Linked DNA regions of Homo sapiens: region 2 is linked to region 1. The links are contacts of gene promoters, found by promoter capture Hi-C in human tissues and cell types (Jung and others, 2019). All regions are on one chromosome and are shown on one strand. Each heading gives the region's core, a stretch centred on a gene start or on the middle of the fragment in contact. The rest is flanking DNA. Distances are from core to core; before and after follow the strand shown.

Region 1 (4,330 bases), core at 913-3,412:
AGTGTATTAATAAATAATATATACGGCTATATCAGAAATTTGTTTTTATTACTCTTTTGATAATGCATTTGCATAGAATTGGTTTCCTAATAATCCTGGGCTTTTTCATCTATGCACTTAGAAGCCATTCTGAGAGAGGTCAGCAGGTGTCCACAAGGCTGCCCAAGGGGTTCCTGGAGCCGACACGGTCCGGTCCGGAGCCCCTCCCTGCCCTGCTGGCTCCTAGTGTGCGAAGCCGGCCCCTTCCAGGCCCACTCCGGTTGCAGGAAGGGCCTCCCTGGTGCAGCACCGCCTCCTCACACCGCTAGGTGGCAGCACTGCCGGCGCCTCCTTCCCCGCCGGCCGCCATAGGCCCCGCTGGTTCCAGGACCTCCCTGCCTCCTTCGCCTCTTAATGGGATCCGCTCCCTCACACCCCTCAGGGAGAGGCTCTAGGGGACGATGACCCAGGGGCGGCCCGGCAGGGAAACTGCTGAGTCACCCTGCTGCCTCTCGGGTCCTCTGACCGGCTCACAGATCACCATAGCCACAGTGTGTGTAAGGCCTTCTCATGGAGCCCTGCAAACACCTCCCCGGGGAGGGGCTGTGGGACCCATCTTACAGATGAGGAGACCGAGGGTCGGAGAGGCCACACAACTCGGCCAGGACCCCGAGTTAGCAAGCGCTGGCCCCTGGTCCAGCCACGGCAAGGCTGGCCCTCCTGCCACCACACTTCCCTGCCTCTGGCCCTCTGCCGGGAGTCTTGGTGGGGAAGTCACTGTCTTCATCCTCCTGCCCGGGCAGAGTCCAATCCTGTGCCTGGCTCCTCAAGACCGTTGGCAAAGATCCTGGAGGCCTGGGGGTGAAAGGGCTGCTTGGGGGACTTAAGCCCCAAGCTATGGTTCGCCTGGGAGACTGAGCCCCAAGCCATGGTCCTCCTGGCTCTGCCCTTCCACCCCCTCACTGGCTGCCCCTCCCAGGGAGGCCTCACCTGTGAAGTGCTTCCCGCCCCTCTCACCCCCCACGGCTCTCACATGGCCTGGGGCGATTCCAGAGCTGGCCTGGGTCAAGCACCTGCACAGAGCACAGAGCGAAGGCTCGGCATGGTATATCCCCCGCCCCTTGCACCTTTCCCCAGTGAAGGGTGGCACCAGTGTCCTTTCCAAGGCCCGGATTCTGCACTGCCCTCAGCCTGTGGAGGATTAAAAGCAGGGTTTTGCCGTGGTTTCTCAAGGCGTCAGCGGGTCTGCAGAGGATTCCGCCCCATGTCACTTCTCTCAGTGAAAGGTCCCCGCCCAGCGTCTGTCCTCCTTTAAGTGCCCCCCATTTGTTTTTTGTTGTTGTTTTTGTTTGTTTTTTGCAAATACAGACTAACCAGGTAGGCACAGAGGAGTCCTGGCATGGGAAGGGAGCAGTGAAACGCCGGTGGAGAGTCCGGGAGGCCCAGATTCCCTGGAACTTTCCAGTGACTCCTCCGGAGCAAGGGCCTGGCCAGGCAGCAGCTGCGCTGGGCGATGAGGGACCGTTGGGTAATTGGGGGCATAGGACCGGGCTTCGCTGGGTTCGGGGCAGAAGCGCCGAAGCTCCGACCCGGAACGCGGTGACTTCATCAACGCAGAAGCCCGCGCAGCCGAGCAGAGGAGTCCCTCGTAGGCGACCCTCGGACAGACGCTCCTGCGCGGCCCGCGTGGCTCAGCTCCGCCCCAGGAAACTTTTCGCGCAGCCCCCGCTCCATGCGCCCCCACCCAGTCCTTCTTCGGGGCCGCCCCCTCCCCAAAGTAGCTCTCCGGGTCCACTGGGCGCCCCCGTAACCGGGTCGGAACCTCGAACGGCTTCGCGTGCCATCCGGTTACCCTGGCAACACCATCCGGCGGCGCCCGGCGGTCCAATCCTAGCCTGCGGCCTCTCTCGAGCCTTTCGCAAGGTGGGGACCGGGACGCGACCGGGGATGGGGAAGGGGGCTGCAGGAGGCCCCGCCTGCGCTGTCGCCCCTGCTGGGCACAGCGCCCCCCACCACCCGCGGCGACCCCGGCCCCCGCAAGGTGGGGCGGCGAGCAGGAGCCGGGGCCAGGCCAGGGGCTCGAGCTCCCGTTCGAGGGGCGGGGAAGGCGGGTGACGTGAGCCGGGCCGGGCGGGCGGAGTTGGGACCGGCTCCGGGAGGCGGGGGCGAGCGCGCGGAGAGGCAGACGCGAGGAGGGAGGCGGCTGAGCAGCGCGGGCGGCTCTGCGGCGGGCGCGGTGGGCGCGGGCGGCGGGGCCCCGGGATCCCCGCGCGCCTCCTCCGCGCGGCGCCGCCGCCGCGCGTCCCCACGCCCCGCGCTCCACGGCGCCCTCGCCCCGCGCGCCTCTCGTGCCCGCCTCCTGCCAGTCTCCGGGCCGCGGCCGTCTGCAGAGCGAGCGCTCAGACGGAGCCCCCGGGCAACTTGAGTGGCGCCGATCGGCGGCGGAGCCTCTGGCAGAGCCCCCCGACCCGGCAGCGCGGAGGGGACTCGCGTCCGTCCGCGTCGCGTCACCCCAAACCCTAAGCAGCGCCGCCCCATCGGCGCGGAGCTCCGGCTGGAGGCAAGAGCCGCGCGCCGGGAGACACGCACCGTGAGCGGCAGCGCCGCCGGCCTCCCTCCTCGCCGCCCCGGAGGGCGAAGCCGCGGCTCCCCAGCCCTTTGCTGCGCCGCGACAGCGCCGGAACACGCCCCGCCTCGCTGCCGCCTTCGCTGTGCCGCCGGCGGAGGGGGCCGCGAGCCCCGCGCCCCGGCCGGAGGATGTGCGCCCCCGCGGGCCGCCCAGCCTGAGCCATGCGCCCCAACGGCGGCGGCGCGCCGGCCGGCATGGAGCCCCGCGCGGCCGCGCTCTGACTCGCTGTGCGCCCCGCGGCCGGCGGGCGGCGGGAGGCGGCGGACCGAGAGCCGGAGACCGGCGCCGCGGGACGGAAGCGAGCGGGCGCGGGCGCCGCGCAGATGGCCTGGGCGAGCCAGGTCTGAGGCCCCGCTCCCCGAAACGTGACCATGTGGATTCAACAGCTTTTAGGACTCAGGTGAGCGACCCGGCCGGCGCCGGGTGCGTGTGGGCGCGTGGGTGCCAGGCTGGGCGGAAGCGGCGCTTTCCTCTATGTTGCAAATCAAGGGACCCCTCTTCGCTTCCCGCAAGCGGGCAACGGGGTGCACCGGTAGCCGGAAAGGGGCGCCCGCCCGGAGCCTGGAGCAGCACCGCGGCCCTGGCGGGGAGCGGCCGGGTCTCCAGGGTTCCGCGCGTCCGGGGTCGGGGCAGCGGCGCCCGCCCCAGCAACCCGGGAAGTGGGGCCGGCCAGGCGCGCCCGCAGCTCTAGGAGCCAGCAGCGCAGTGTCCTGGCCGGCTGCCCCGGCGCGCCTCCTCCCCGGGGCCCGGGGCGAGGCGCCGGCCGCTGGGCGCGGCGGGCGCGGGGGCCGGGGCTGCCGGGGAAAGCTAAAGCTCCGGGCTCCCAGCGAGAGCTTCGCAGGCGGAGTTGGAGGAAACCACAGCCAAACAGCCACTCCGCTCCCCCTTCTCCTTTCTCGGGGCCCCGGGGCTGAGCAGGGGCCTCCCAGGCTCCCAGCTGCCGACCCAGCTGTTTGCGGGTGACCTCCGGGCCCGACGGGCGCTCACAGCTGGCGGGCAGCTGGGGCGGGAGAGCTGGGGTTCTTGGGGAGCTCCGGCGGCCACCCCGCTGTAAACACACACGCACATACGCCCGCCGGCGCGCCCGGGGCTTGTCTGTGTCTGGGACTCCAGGGCCAGATGGAAGAGGGGGTTCGAGCCTAGAGCCCGTGGTGGGGGTGTCCAGAAAGACCCTTCTCGGCAAACTTTGCCAGCCCGCCGGGGTTCTCGGGCTTCTCTGGCTTCTGCCTGGGGTGGCCCAGGGCCCACCAGAGCACAGCTGTCGTTTTTGCTGGGCAGGCTGCCTCTGAGCCCTCGCCCTCCTGCCGGGGCATTCACCGAGCTCGTGCATTTGGGTCCCGGGTTGGAACCGCGAGCGGGGAGGACAGAGGTGGAGGCGGAGAGCAGCGTGCGGTTCTCGAGTTTGTCCACTGGGATGCACTGCGCTCCCGCGTTGGGGACGAAAAGGCCAGTAGTTGTTAGCCCGCTGCTTGAGCCGCCCCCACTCAGGGATGAAGCTGCGGGGGGAGTGAGGCGAAGGGAGGGAGGATCTAGTGCGTGTCCTGATTTTGAGAAATCGGAAGGGGACTGGGACGCCAAGTGTTTTCTAGCGACCCTTGATTTATGAGCCGATTCTGCTCCCAGAGGTGAATACTGTGTAACACATCTAGTGAACATTGTCAGATGTTATTATTAGCATCCCTTCTCTCAGTGGCCGATCTTGCTGTGGGCTTCAAAGGTTAA
Region 2 (4,330 bases), core at 548-3,047, 1.1 Mb after region 1:
AGCACTTGGCAGGGGACCTGGCGTGCAGAGCGTCCTCAACACATTATACTCACTGCACGTGTGAGTCTCTGGGAGGGGCACGTGGCTCTGCCATCCTGCAGCTTGCAGCTGGTTAAGGAGGCAGTGCTTCCAGAGAGAGGTCATCTGAAGACCGAACCTTGCAATGCGCCCCATTAGTGCCACAGGATGGCAAGGGAGATTGAGCATGGGCTGGGGGTGGGAGGGCTCTGGAGGGAGCTTGAAGCACAGATAGGACTTGGGGTGGCGTTATCTGGGAGAGGGGGGCAGAGAAGTCCAGCGGTGGAGACAGTATGTGTGGTGCATCCAGGCAGTGGCTGGAGCATCCAGCGGCAGGATGGGGGGTGTTCCACCCTCCCTCCCTTCCCTGGTTCCTGCTCCACAAGGCCGTGTGGTCCTCAGAGCTGAGGGAGAGCAAGGCCTGAGAGTTGGGGAGACTTAGGGAGTGCACAAACCCTGCCCTGAGTGTGGCCACCCTGGACTTGATCATCTGTGCTGGGCAACAACCAAAAGAGCGTAAGCAGAGTGGGACTTGAACGCTTTGCCCTGCAGATTACCCTGCCCTCCCCTACTCCTAGGGCCTCAGGCCAGGCTGCATCCTGGAAATGTGAGAGAAAAAGGAGCAGGCTGCTTTCTGAGGCCAAGCGCTGAATTCTCAGCGCCCAGGATGGGGTCCCTAGCCAGCCAGGCATGGCGGGGCCTCCCTGCAGTCTGTCAGCATCTGGGGTGTCAGGGCTATCAGGAAAAAACCCAGCAGAGGCAGCTGCAGGAGCAAGGGGCAGGGGAACACAGAGACTGTCTGCTGGGGGCTCCTGAGCCTGGCCGTGGCTGCGTGCCGGCCTCCTGGCCTGCAGCAAGGCTCCAGGTGAGCAGAAAATTGAGATTGGCTGCCACTGCGCAGCTGCCCACCACGGGTCCAGCCCAAAGCCTTTGACACCCCAAGCAGCATTGGTGCAGCATCCTCAGCCTCGTCACTATTGATATCTCGGGCGGGACAAATCTCTTTCGTGTCAGGTGGCCGGGGTGGGCCACCTGTGCATGGTAGAATGTTTAACAACATCTCTCACCCCTAACCCCGAAGCCTACCCCTTGTAACAACCAAAATGTCTCCAAGTATTGCCAGATGTCCCCCGGGGTGATGGGGCAAAATATGGTGCTTAGGGTGTGAGAGGCTTTGGGCTGGACCTGTGGTGGGCAGCTGCGCAGTGGCAGTCAATCTCACTTTTCTGCTCACCTGCAGCCTTGCTGCAGGCCAGGAGGCCGGCACGCAGCCATGGCCAGGCTCAGGAGCCCCCAGCAGACAGTCTCTGTGTTCCCCTGCCCCTTGCTCCTGCAGCTGCCTCTGCTGAGTTTTTTCCTGGTAGCTACGACACCCCAGATGCTGACACCGCATATTCTCACTCATAGGTGGAATTGAACAATGCGAACACATGGACACAGGAAGGGGAACATCACACTCTGGGGACTGTTGTGGGGTGGGGGGAGGGGGGAGGGATAGCTTTAGGAGATATACCTAATGCTAAATGACGAGTTAATGGGTGCAGCACACCAGCATGGCACATGTATACATATGTAACTAATCTGCACATTGTGCACATATACCCTAAAACTTAAAGTATAATAATAATAAAATTAAAAAAAAGAACCACTGGATTCAGGAGAGGAGAGTTAAAGTCTTCTTTTCAAAGTAGAAAATAATTAATGGTCTTTCACTCATTCCACAAATATTTATTAGGCAATTGTGTTTTGCTAGGCACTGAGGACACAGTGTTCACAGTCTGGTGTTCATGTACAGCAGACAAGGTACTCACATGTACCTAGATGTTTACTTCCTTTCATTCTTGCTCCAAATATATTCATTATCTTCCTAAATAGGAAGTATGGCCCTTAGGAAGCAGCATGCCATCTCCTCCTGGAAGTCTTCCCAAGCCCCAAGGTGGGGGGCCAAATGCCTCTCTGTGTACCCCAGAAGCTGTTTCTAGCTGCCCTCTCTCTGCAAGACCCTGAATCTTCATTCTAACTCCCCCTCCCAAACTGTCTCCTCCTGCAGGGCACTTAAACCTATGCTAACTCTCCCCGCTCTCTCCTTAACTTTGCTGCCTGGATAAGCCATTAGCCTTATATGGAAATGTAACTTCTAAGAACTCAACTGCATAGGATCGGGGCTGCAGAGTGGGGAAAATAATAGCAATCTCTGTATTAGCTTCCCTCACAGCCGTGACTCCTGTCCAAACTAGACGTTGTCCAGTGTGAAGGACACTTCAGCAGGGAAGCCACAGCTGGAATACACAGAGGAATGAAAGAGGAGATCCTCAGGCCCTGCACTTCCAAGGGCCCACATCGAGATCTGGCAGCAAGTTCAGAGTGATTTTTAGTATGCAATTTTTTTTTAACCTATGTAGACCTTAGAAGCTAAACCCACCCACGTCTTGCCACGAGGCTCTTCAGATCCCAGGCACTCGGCAAGGTGCCCAGCACATCATAGGTGCTCTGCAAAGGTTCATGGAGCTGAAATGAGCTGAAGCTGATACTATTGCTTTGTTACTTCTATGTTCATTCTAATTTCATAGAGAAAGCGCAGGCACCATGATCTGCACTGAATGGCTCCCTGCCTAAGGGAAGCTATTGTTTGCACAATGTCCTCAGCCAGGAAGCACAGCTCAGGTGGCAGCAGTTCCCCAGACTGCAAGTGTGGCACCAGAAGGCTGACAAAATGCTCCTGGCATTGCCGGCCTGCAACCCCAGCCCCTAAGGACACGGACCCGATCACCAAGAACGCACAAACTCTGATGAGGACAAGTGTCTCTCCGAGTCCCTACCTGGCAGCAGCGCCTGCAAAGCAACCCCTGTCACCCTCCAGAGGAGGCTCGTGGGAGCCCATCAGCCGTGTCGGGACCTTGGGACCCTCCACTCAGACACCTGTTCTAAGAGCTTCCCCCGAGAGGGGCCGAGGGAGGGTACTACACGCAAGGCCAATATGTCAATGAAGTACCCTGTGCTGTTCATTAAAACCTGAAAATGAAGCTTGGGAATTTCATTAACAATCCAAGTGCAAAGAAGAGAGGTTTTTGGGGATATTTTTAACACATCTATAATCTTTCATTAACAGCTAGAAATTTAGATTGCTGTACATAAGTGATAGACAATGAAACAGAAAAGGGATTTCTGAGAGTCTCTCGGCTGTCAGCATTGTGAGCAGCTGGGAGGGTCACTCCGTAGTCATCTGTCACACCTCCCTGGAGAAGGCCTTGTGAGCCAGGGGCACCTCAGGAGGCCAGGGTGCAGCACCAGAAGCAGGGGCCCTGGCTCACCAGGGCTAGAAGGAGCAGCCAGCCCCAAACAAGCAGCAGGGTTTACAAAAGGACAATAAATTGATGGAATCGCCCAAGTCTGCAAAGCCCTGCTCCTCCCCCCGCCTCCCCATCCCCACCCCTGGATGGGCAAGGGGGTGGGGCAGGGACTAGAGGGGGTAATGGAGGAGGTAATGGAGTGGCCTTCTGGGGTGGACACCACTATTGTGTCCCCTCCTACAGACAAAGGAAGAAGCTCAGCAGGGCTGAGTCACTTGCTCCTGAGACACAGTCTTCTGGGTCTCTGGTGGTTCTGCTCATCTTGGATATAGCCATCTATAGTGTTTGCTCCGGACTATCTTTCCAGGAATGTTTGAATAGTGAACAACCTTGGAAGATAGAGGCTCTCTCCCTCCAGGGCAGAGGCAGGCTTGTTTGGACTCCAGTGTAATAAAGATAATGTCCCCCTCAAGGGCAAAGGCCAGGCAGGTGTGCTTGTAGTCCACTCAGCAAGACAGGGTTCCCTCAGATGGGGTCCTTGGCTGGGACACAGACCCCCTACATATGCAGCATCCACCTGGGCCTCTCAGTATCACAGCCATGGGGTTTAGAGGCAGAGGGGATCCATGAGGACCATGAAACTTGGGCTGCCTGCTGGGTGGCAAGTAACAACAACAGCTGTCTCTGCCCCAGGAATTTCATGTCTTCTGCCAGCATCAAGGGAAGGGTGGCAGGCTCACCTGTTAGCTTGAAAATAGGGTGAAATCACAGACAGTCCACAATTATTGGTGCTTGCCCAAGCCCACACAGTCACAATGGCAGGCTAGGATTCAATCTCAATGGACTCCAGCACCACATGTTTCCCAGGCTGTGATCAGGGGACCATCTGCATCAGAAGGAACTGCTGGGCTCCTCCACTGACCTACAGAGTCACATCTTCAGAGAGAGACATGGGGTCTACGCTCCCATCAAGTCCCCATCTCAGTCCAGAAGCATCCCCAAGTCTGAAAGGCTCACCCTCC

What was found. Contacts are between HindIII fragments. The study calls those that stand out against the background at their distance.
Region 2: a fragment that was not itself captured here is called in contact with the fragment with the promoter of AJAP1 in region 1 in 1 of the 25 tissues and cell types used here (dorsolateral prefrontal cortex).

The regions. Positions count from the first base shown.
Region 1 is chr1:4,652,447-4,656,776 of GRCh38, forward strand. It overlaps AJAP1 (adherens junctions associated protein 1), which reads left to right and starts at 2,163. Exons shown (of 6, transcript NM_018836.4): 1 at 2,163-3,008. The coding sequence starts at 2,980. RefSeq lists an enhancer at 154-203. The HindIII fragment of the contact is 14,001 bases long and covers 1-4,330 here.
Region 2 is chr1:5,725,586-5,729,915 of GRCh38, forward strand. No RefSeq gene overlaps it. Among named protein-coding and RNA genes, the nearest start is that of MIR4689, 130 kb to the right of the region's middle. The HindIII fragment of the contact is 4,911 bases long and covers 1-4,253 here.